3 separate regions of the Homo sapiens genome follow, and regions 1 and 3 are each linked to region 2. Evidence: promoter capture Hi-C in human tissues and cell types (Jung and others, 2019). All regions are on one chromosome and are shown on one strand. Each heading gives the region's core, a stretch centred on a gene start or on the middle of the fragment in contact. The rest is flanking DNA. Distances are from core to core; before and after follow the strand shown. Region 1 has its middle 180 kb from the start of CLVS2. Region 2 holds the start of CLVS2 (clavesin 2). Region 3 overlaps TRDN (triadin).

The links. Contacts are between HindIII fragments. The study calls those that stand out against the background at their distance.
Region 1: a fragment that was not itself captured here is called in contact with the fragment with the promoter of CLVS2 in region 2 in 2 of the 25 tissues and cell types used here (H1 embryonic stem cells and mesendoderm cells).
Region 3: a fragment that was not itself captured here is called in contact with the fragment with the promoter of CLVS2 in region 2 in 2 of the 25 tissues and cell types used here (H1 embryonic stem cells and mesendoderm cells).

Annotation. Positions count from the first base shown.
Region 1 is chr6:123,176,667-123,180,169 of GRCh38, reverse strand. No RefSeq gene overlaps it. Among named protein-coding and RNA genes, the nearest start is that of CLVS2, 180 kb to the right of the region's middle. The HindIII fragment of the contact is 3,176 bases long and covers 48-3,223 here.
Region 2 is chr6:122,994,926-122,998,164 of GRCh38, reverse strand. It overlaps CLVS2 (clavesin 2), which reads right to left and starts at 1,930. Exons shown (of 6, transcript NM_001010852.4): 1 at 1,419-1,930; 2 at 1-946. The coding sequence starts at 387. The HindIII fragment of the contact is 5,962 bases long and covers 1-3,239 here.
Region 3 is chr6:123,232,857-123,236,171 of GRCh38, reverse strand. The region is part of intron 38 of TRDN (triadin); the gene reads left to right. Among named protein-coding and RNA genes, the nearest start is that of TRDN-AS1, 210 kb to the left of the region's middle. The HindIII fragment of the contact is 4,369 bases long and covers 1-3,315 here.

The DNA of each region.
Region 1 (3,503 bases), core at 386-2,885, 180 kb before region 2:
TTTTTTTTCTTTCTTCATTTATTCTCCAATTTTGCTGAAATATATGCCCCAATAATTTTGTCAGATCATAAAATGCTATCACAGAAAAAGGCCTTCTGATGGTAGCCTCAGTGTACATGCCCTTTGAGTCAGACTGCCCCAAGTTGAACTGTTTGCCCTCCATGTCTGATACATAGGTTATCACCCTGAGCTTTCCTTTTGTGTTATTCTAGGGATTTGATTTGACACTCTGCTTTTTCAGTTCTCTGGTTCTTGTATTTTGGGGCCCACTTTCTCTTAGTTTATTGCCTTATTTTGTTGCAGTATATCTCCTGGCACCTCCATTGGCAAAGGGTGCATGAGAGATATTCCTTGAAACTTGTATGTCTGAAAATATTTTGGGGAGAAAGTGCTCAACACCAGTATCTTTAAGTATTTCCTCCAGAGATGTGAATTTTTCCTGAGATTTATCCTTTGTGTGAAGTATAAAGTTTTGGCTGCCAGCATTCTGGGAGTTGAGAAGAGGAGAGAGAACCAAGATGCAGCACTGAGTATGTATGAGGTCATTTGATGGCCCTATTTTCATTAAGAAACCAGTGGCTTTTACTGTTTCTATAGATCTCCAGGACAAAGACTTTATCCTCTGTTTAGGAAATAACATTTTGTAACTCTGCTAGTGTAGGAGGGAAGAACTCATCCGGAGGTGAAAAGTCTGGGAGGGATTCAGGACTCTCACACAAATATCCTTTACCTACATCATCTTTATATTAGTGTCCTGCCTGCCCCAATTTTCAGAGATATTTGGGATTGGTATTTTCTGAGCTTTTTGACAATTATTCAGGAAAAAAATATATATTGGTTTGAGCTTTCCCCTCTGCTTACCTAGCAGAAAAGAATGGAACTGTCTTCTCCATTTTGTTAATTCAGCTTTTCCTCTTTTATTAGCTTTCTAGCTTCTAAGATTGTATTTGCTTTCTAGCTTCTAAGATTCTATTTGCTTTCTAGCTTCTAAGATTCTATTGTTTGTCCTCCTCTCTTTCTATCTGTGGCTTAACATATTCCACAAAACGTCTTTAAAAGATTTGTTATAATTTAGTGGGGCTGTGGGACCCAAATTAGATGTGTGTGATCAGTGTGCTCATAACTTACAATATCAACTTGCTCTTAATTTCTATATTTTAAAAACTTGAATTAATGACATTGACATATTCCAGCTACCTTTGGTAAAAACTATTATGTTTATGGCTATGTTTATACACTGAGAAATATCTAGGAGAAAAGTAATACTCATGCTTTTTTCATAATGCTATATGGCCTATGTAATGTCAAAACAACTGGATGACTAACAACATTTTATTTTTTGTCTAGATATTTTGATCTAAACTAAATGGCAGGCTTTGTCTGAGAGCTCTCCAACCTTCACGAAACACATGAAATGTTATCAGCTTCTAATACTTCTTTCTTCCCATCCCCCAGGACCCTGGTGTTTTCATCTCTCTACCATTAAATTTTTAAACCTTTATTTATAGAAATAAATTACTGATAACAGATTAATGTGCTACTTTAGCCATTTCCATTTCCATTTGAAATAAACATGAAAGCATTAAAAAAACTTATTAAGCATTAATGGCAGCTAGTTGTAGGTATTTAAAGTTTTCTTTCTGCCTTTTTAATCATGTCACATACATCAGTCTTAATGACTGAAGATGTCTCTGTAAATATTATAGAAAGTTTACGTTATGAAGGATAACTCTATCTTTGAGTGGTATGCTGCTCTTCGGGTCTTTGAAGAATATAGATAGTTTCGAAGAGCTCCCAATACAAAAATTTCCAGAAAGCTTAGAAGAGGGGTTTGAGGTCAGATACTATGGTTTTCTTTAGTGAAGAGCTGAGTCTGATACATAGCAAGGCTCTATTTTTCACCCATTAAACTAAAAAACATCCATGGAAACTTATTTATGGATAAGACGGTTTGTCTTTGAATGATCCAGAAAACATTGCCTATAAGTTGAAAATAATTCAAAAGACAATTTGAAATCATTAGTATTATCTTTTACTTTCACTAAACATACCAAGATTGTTGGGAATGCCAACATTCTACCAACAACCAAGTTGACTCTTTTTCCGTCACCCATCTAGAACCCATTTAAGTTGTCATCCAGTCTCTCTAGGCTAATATGTAAAGTCTAAGCTGAAATTGTATTGATTTGGCACAGCTTTCACCTTCTGCTTATAATCATGTTTGTCCTTTAATCTAATTATAGTCATTTTTGTCTTATATTTCTTATTTCAGTTATTAACTTCCTTTGAAGTTACTTGGAACTTACTGAAATATGTTGTTTTTACATTATCTAGCAAACTGCATCATGTACTTTAATGTATATACCAAAAATATAGTCAAAAGAAATGAGATTGCAGTTGTAAAGTTTCAAAAGTTTTCAAAATTCAGGGCAAACACCGTATGCTCTCTCTCTCTCATAGTTTAATTATAGAATTCCATCCATAATAATTCTGAATAAGTCATACCATTTATTTTTCCTGTTCTCATTCATTTTAGAGAAAGATTGTTCTATTAACATTGACCTGTGCCCCATTTGTCATCTGTTTTGCAATCTATTCAATTCCAGTTATATCAAAGGGATTTGCAGGCCTAATAAAGAAGACCCAGAGAGCATTTCATCTCTCAAAAGAAGAAGCCATAACCTCAGTACAGTAGAAATGTTCACACATTACAAAAACAATATATCCATTGAAAAATATGTTCTCCAAGAAATATAAAAGGGTGTAGAGGTGAGCGAAATGCAAATATCTCATTTGTACTCTTTCTTCTTTTTCTTCAGAAGAAAAAGGTTTAACAGTCTTTTATGTGGGAGAAAGTTATCATGATTCTTAAAGAGGTTAGAAACATCACTTCATAAACAGCACCTGATAATATAATAGTGACTGTCGAAGTGGATTTCTCTACACATCCTGCAAGTAAGCCAAACACATAAACAAGGAGAATAAATTAAATAAGCTTAATTTTCACATAGGGAATAACCAGGAGACAAAGGCCCAAAGTAACATTTTGCATAATTTGAGAAATACATACCAGAATGTAGTAGAGCCAATTTCATGACCACATCAGAGTAGAGTGAGGCTAATATTATGGAGAATAAAAAAGGGGAGAGGGTCAGAGAGGTGACGGAACATAAATCAGTCACCCCAGAGAGAGAAAGTTCCACCCTAAAAGCTGATCTATTGAGAACACACATGATAGAGCAGAGTGTCAGCTACTGGAGAGTTGAAAGGAAGTGATTAAAATTGGGACTAGATATGACACCACTTAAGAAGGCACTGCCTCTGGGGGAAAGTGGTGTGAGTTAGAAAAGGAAGGCATCACTTAGAAGATTGGCAGTGAAAAGCAAGAAGGAAACAGGAGTGGAAGTTAAAAGACAAAAACAGAATCACAATATCAGAAAACACACCAAAGCTTTGCTGTGCATTGACACAAAGGAAATGAAAAAAAAAATCTTCAGAGACTA
Region 2 (3,239 bases), core at 681-3,180:
GCTCTGATCCCAATTGGCAGCAAAAAGGACTAGAATCTTCCTGCCATAGTGGTCCAGATTGGCCAGGCCCCCAGGGAAGCCATCCTTCAGTGCCTGCTTGATGCCAGGGTCGGTGGCCTTAAAGCTTTTGAACATGTCCAGGTTCTGCTGCCGGTACTCAAAGTACTGCGCCAGGAGGCGGAAGGCCTCAAAGTGATGAAACTTCCTAGCCCGCAAGAAGCGTAAGATGAAGGCATCATCCGTGCGCAGAAAGCCAATGTCCGGCCTGGTGATGACCATATCCCTCACCTCCTGGATGTCCTGGTGCAGCGTGTCTGGGTTTTCATTGAGCTCCAGGCGAGCTTTCTCCAGGGTCTCAGGGGAGAGACCGGCTTGCAAATGAGTCATTGTTCTGCCTATCTCTGAGCTTTCCCTCAGAAGACCTTGTTGACTGTCCCAAAGCAAACCTGGTCCTTGCCACCACCAGACTCCAGCCCCCAGACCTCCTGCTGCCTGCTTCCTCTCCCCTACAGGAAATTAATAATCTTGGTGTCCAATCAAGTGCCCTGTTGCTCCTGCTTTCCCCCAGCAAAGCTGGGGGGGCCGGGGGGTGTAAACTTCTTCCTCTGCCCCCTAAAATACAACACCCTACTTTGGCTCCCTCTTTCCTTTCCTTTAAAGAGATGTGAACCCCTGAAGGGCTCCGCACTCCTCTTCTTGTCCTTTCTCTTTCCTAACAAATCACCCCTAATTCCACCTAGCACGGGTGTTTCTGATCTTGGTACTGTCCTCTTCTCTTCTCTTCCAAGATGTAACAAAAACAACCCCCACGCACATCTCAGCCCCTGCACTGTGAATGTTCCTGCGGTCCCTGCTGAAGGATACGCCTGCCAGGGGTGGCGATGGAAATTCTGATTAATAATAAGGTAGCTCTTCAGCGCTGAGCTCCAGGGCGGAGAGAGATCATCTTTGCCAGAAAGAAAAAGAGACAGAGAGAAAGAGGGGGGAGAAAGGAGATTATTTCTCCCTGTACTTATTCAAAGACGCTATTTTTAAAAGACAAATTTGTGTGATTTATTTAAGATTATTGTGATCCAATTAGGTGAAGACTCTGCAGATAGCGCACCTTCCCACCACCCCTCTGAGATACACCGTGATCTCATAAGGCACCAGCAGGGGTTCTGGTGGCGTTGGTACCAGCGTGGGCTCCCCCAACCCCACCCCCAACTTCTGCCTTCCTCTAGCCCTTCATTTCCACGGACTTGCCGCGGGGTTGGAGAAAAGGGGGGAGGGGGAGGGAGGGGACCGGGGATATCTCTGGGAATGCACATTTCAAAAACGAAGAGAAGGGGAGGACGTTGTGAAGAATAAAATAAAAATGTCCTTATCTTTTCTATAAAACCCCAAAGCAAGAAAGAAGAAAGAGCAGCCGCTCCTACCAGCAAACCCAGAGGCGGGGTCGCTAAGCAATGCGGCACTCCCTGGCATCCATCAGCCGCGGCTTCAGCAGCGGCGGCGGCGGCGACAGCGGCATCAACTCCTCTGGGCGGGATGGAAGGAGCAGAGAAGAGGGGTGGCGGCGGGGACCCGGGCCGAAGATGCGCTCGGGAGCAGCCGCGGCCACATCGTCCGCGGGCAGCCCGCAGCCTCTCCTAGCAGGAGGGGTGAGGATCGCAGGGCTAGGGCCACCGCTGTCCCAGGTTCTCGCCTGGCCCTGCCATTTTCGCCTTCGGGAGAGAAGGTGGGGAGGAGGACGCGAACGCCTGGATGGAGAAGGCCACTCGGGCGGCCACCGCCTTTGTGAGCCCTCCGGGAGCAGCCGGGGAGGTGGGCGCAGCGGGGCGGCTGCTGCGCGGCGCTGGCCTCTCCTGGGGCTCTCCCGAGCGGTCCGAGTCAGGGTTGCCCCACCGGGCTGCGGCGGCGGCTCCGGCTGCTGCTGCTGAAAGAGGACTCGGCTCAGCCCAACTCCTCTCTAATTATCCCAGCACAGATCTCGCTGCGACGTAAGCACTCACTCAGCTCGCGCGCGCGCTCCGCTCCTTTCCCTGCCTCGTTGGGGTAGGACGGCAATTTGGGTGGCATCGAAATATCCCGAGCCCTAAGTTTAGGCTGCTCTTCGTCCCCACTCCTCAGCAGGCTGCTGAGCGGGCGTCGCCGGGCCAGGCGGGGCAACCATGCTTTCCAGCCTCCCCACGCCCCTCTCTTCGCCCTTTGTGTGCAAGACCCCAGATCAGCCTGGAGAGTAGCTGTTGTAGACGGTAATTCACATTGACACGCATTTTCTCGTTCCTGTAGGAGGCAATTTTGATGTAGAAGGAGTACGGAAACATTCTGTACTTTTCGCATTTGTTGTAGACAGAGATATTTAATTTAGAAAACACCAGAGTGGTTCCAAGACAATGTACTGATGATTAAGCCTCCGGAGGAACTTATATGAATAGTTTTTCAACCAGTCTCCCTGCTAAATTTCTGTTGAAGAGGATGAAAATGAGCACTAGGGTAAATGATAATAAAAACATAATTCTCAAAGGAAGAAAAAAATAGGAACTTCACTCATATCTCATCATAAAGCAAATATTTCTGGAAACACATACCATCCTTCCTTCAGTTGTATGCATCTGTATATGAGAATCATTATAAATAAACAGAAGTCCTTGCGCTTAATATGACTATCTATGGATTTGAGGAAAAGGGATATTTTCTATTTTCAAAACACAGCACATATTACTGAGCGTGTTACTAAGAGCAACTTTTGACTTTATAAACTGTAGAATGGGGTCTTGAATTGAAGTTAATTCAATGCAACTAATATTTACTGAGTTCCACGAGGTGTGGGGCATTTTTCTGCATTCTGTGTATAGGAGGTGGTCTTGAAGATAAGCAAATTTTGTCATTTTCTTATCTTGACATTTCTTATCTTGTCATTTTCAATGTTGATGACTATGAGAACCCTCAAAATACAGGCACACTTGTTTTTGCTCTTCTCATGGCGATGGTGTTGATAAAAAGAAAGAAGGAAAAGGGTTGTATGGTAGAGCTAGAGCATTTATTAATTAAATTAATGCAAATTAATGTAGGAACCCGAATAAGACAATAAATTACACACACACACACACACACACACACAGTCATTATTGTCAAGGAATTTATGTTTTAAATGGGGAAGGCAGAAAATAAACCACTTAAGTGTGTGTATATGTGTGTTATATATATGCACTATATATAAGGTCCTTCTAGGATTTTAAGTGATTATGACTTTC
Region 3 (3,315 bases), core at 207-2,706, 240 kb before region 2:
AAACAAGTGCTGGCAAGCATTTGAAACAACCAGAACTTTCATACATTGCTGTCGGGAAGGCAAAATGGTACTGGCACTATAGAAAACTGAGAGTTGCTTATGTTGTGACCCAACCATCTCACTCCTGAAGGATGAGAGAAATAAAAATTTATGTTTGCCCAAAAATGTGAACATAAATGTTTATTGCAGCTATATTCACAATCGCCAAATCTGGAAATAACCCAAATGTCCTTCAACAGGCAAATGGATATAGAAGCTGTAGTACATCCACACAACAGAATATTTCTCAGGAATAAAAATTCATATGTGCAGCAGTTATATGAATTCAAATACGTTATTTCTTCTGAAGCTAAGCTCCAAAGGTTCCATACGGGAAGTTTTCATGCATATGAGATTCTTCCATTGGGTTACAGCTCAGTAGTTGCTCAAGGTTAGGGACAGAGGGGGAGTGTCACTATAAAGGAGGAGAACAAAGGTATTTTTTGGAGGTGATTTTGGTTGTAGTCACACACATCTATACGTGTCTTAAAATTCATATACATGTCTTAAAATTCATAGAAGTTTGCACTGAAAAACTCAATTTACTGTGTGATTATTTTAAAAAATAAACCTTAAAAAATAAAATTAATAACGTACAAAACTTGTGAAAGATAGCTTTTTGAGATTTCCTAGCTGGGTTGCTTTTTCTCACTTACCTGACCTTATCTTTTTCTTTGTCTTTACTGACCCTGTCTTGCTCAACTTTTATTCCACTCCCAGCAGTTCCTTACCATTTGTGGGAATCCATCCTGAAAGTGAGCCCTGGCTTGTCAGTTTCCCAAGGTCACAGGGTATCTGAAGGTTCCAGCACCTTCAGCTCTCAATGCTTACCTGCTATTGGACTTGACAAAGTCCCTCATAACTTTAGCTGATGATCTCATCAGTCTAACTTCCTTTGGGAAATACCTATTGGCTATCTGAGAGACTGATCCCCATCTCTCAGACTCCCCATGGTTTCCCTCTGCTTCCTCTTCCACAGACTTTGATTCCTTGTAGATTTTTGACTATTCATTTGTCTCAATATGTAGCTATCTTAGGGTTCATCTAATTGGTTATAAATATTGTTCATGGTTTTTGCTGTCTACCTATTCTATCCATTTTGGGGGGAGAAATATGAAGGAAATTTAAGATCTCTACTGCTATTATGTTCTCACAGTCCCCTAGGACAATTTTATCATTGTCCCACCCTCCCTGGCTTAACAAACGATCCTAGCCTCTACACCCCCATTTTGCTCCTTGCACACTTAATTACTGAATTTCAGTTTTAATATAAGCACTTGTCCTAATGTGACCCCACTTTTCATGTATCAGCAGGGTTAGTTTTTTATTTTAATTTCCCTGGGACAGAAGGGTCAATTCTATTTGAAGATTTCCTTTACTTCCTCTAAACCCAGTCCTTCAACAAAAGGTATTAGTTTTTGTTGCTGTGAATGAGCACTTTAGTGTATTCAGTCTATCATATTTTCAGAAGTATTAGTGTCCAATAGTTTTTAAGATTTTATCCACAAGTCTTATTTTAACCAAGATTATTGCCTTTCTTTTTCTAAATTAAAAAACAAGATATCTTACGTCCCAGTTCTAGACAATTGTGTAAAACTAATTATGTCATTAAAAATTTAGCGAGTGCTTCATCACAGAATCCTAAATTTAATCTTTATTAAAGCAAAACCATTCTCAACTAATACAGATATGTACAAACTGAAATAAAGTCTTCTTATAATGAATGGATGAAAGCTTATTTCTGGCTACACATGGGTGTATATATATTTAATATATGTGTGTTTATAAACATATATACACATACCTATACATAAATGCACACACATATATATGATATGAAAGTGATTGTTTTTATAAAATGACTTCTGTTTTGTTAGAGGTCACATGCTGAAATGGAATGGCAACATTACTGTAGTTTTTGCTAAACAAATTAGCACTAAATTCATAATAGACATATGTATACAGATGGTATCATAGGGTAGTAGTCGATACCAGGGAAACTAGCGTCAGAAGTACTGGTTCCCATCATGACTTAAAAAGCTGAATAACTTGGAAAAATTACTTAACATTTTTGTGCTTCAATAGCTTTATTTTTAAATTTTGAATAATAATATTCATCTCATAGAAATTTTGGGTAGATTAAGATAAAATAGTAGAGTGCATGAATAGGGATTGGTATATGATAAGTGATTATTAATTGGTAACTATAAGAATGAGGATGATGATGATTATGTAATGACAATGGGTTACTCCCCTAGCAAGGGACAGATTTCAATTATTAAACTTTTGTGTCAAAATGGATACAATTATTAAATAAAAAAATAAAGAGAAAACATCTGTCTCTTATTTTTGCTTGGATTTAAAACAATCTCACTTTTTAAAGCAAGGGTGATTAAATTCATGATGATTTTGTTTTAGGAGAAAAAATTGGCTGAAGTCTCCTTAATATGTGCCAGTGATCATACTCACCACTCTGATCACCCCTTTTGCTAAACTCCAGAGAAAGGTTGTGTATAAGGCGCATTTGGTGAAACGTTTGTCACTGTTCATTATTAGACTTTGGGTCCCAGCACTGTGGCCTCATTCATTTAAGGGTGATGTTAAGTTGTTCTGACATTGCCCTCAAGAGAGCCGTGTTTATCCTGGGAGTGATGGGACAGACACTAAGAAAGGGTCGCATACATTCATTGAACACTCCTGGCTTCACTGTGTGCTGCCTACAAAATCCCAAATGTGAAATTTCCCTGCATAGTTTATTATTCCCTAGAGTCAATTTTAAGAATCTTCAGTGAGTTCTCAGTGTAGCAGTTCATTTTCTTTAAAACTCGTTATTACTTTAAATAATAGCACATATTGAAGGAGCTTCTCACACCTGAGAGCTAAAATAAACTGGCTGTCAAATGTTGCTTTGAACTACCGTGGGTTTTTAAGATTTCTTAGGAAAATGTGAACTCTTAGAAAGTAATATTCTGTTAAACCGGTTACACACAATTTGGCCAGTTAGTTGAGAAAATAATTTGGAGCTTTGGGTATCTCTGCAGAAACAGAGAGAGGCAGCGAATTTGATAAAGGAAGAGGGCTGAGGAAGAATACAAATATTCATGCTAAGCTTTTTTTGCATCTATGACTAAGGATTCCACATGTTTACTTACGAGGATTTCTTGAAACTGCACAAATCAAAATAGACTGCTGGTAGAGATGAACATAGAGTAACTGAGCTGGTACATATACGTGCATTATTTAGGGGGCTTTGATTTATTTATAGTGTTTGCTAAG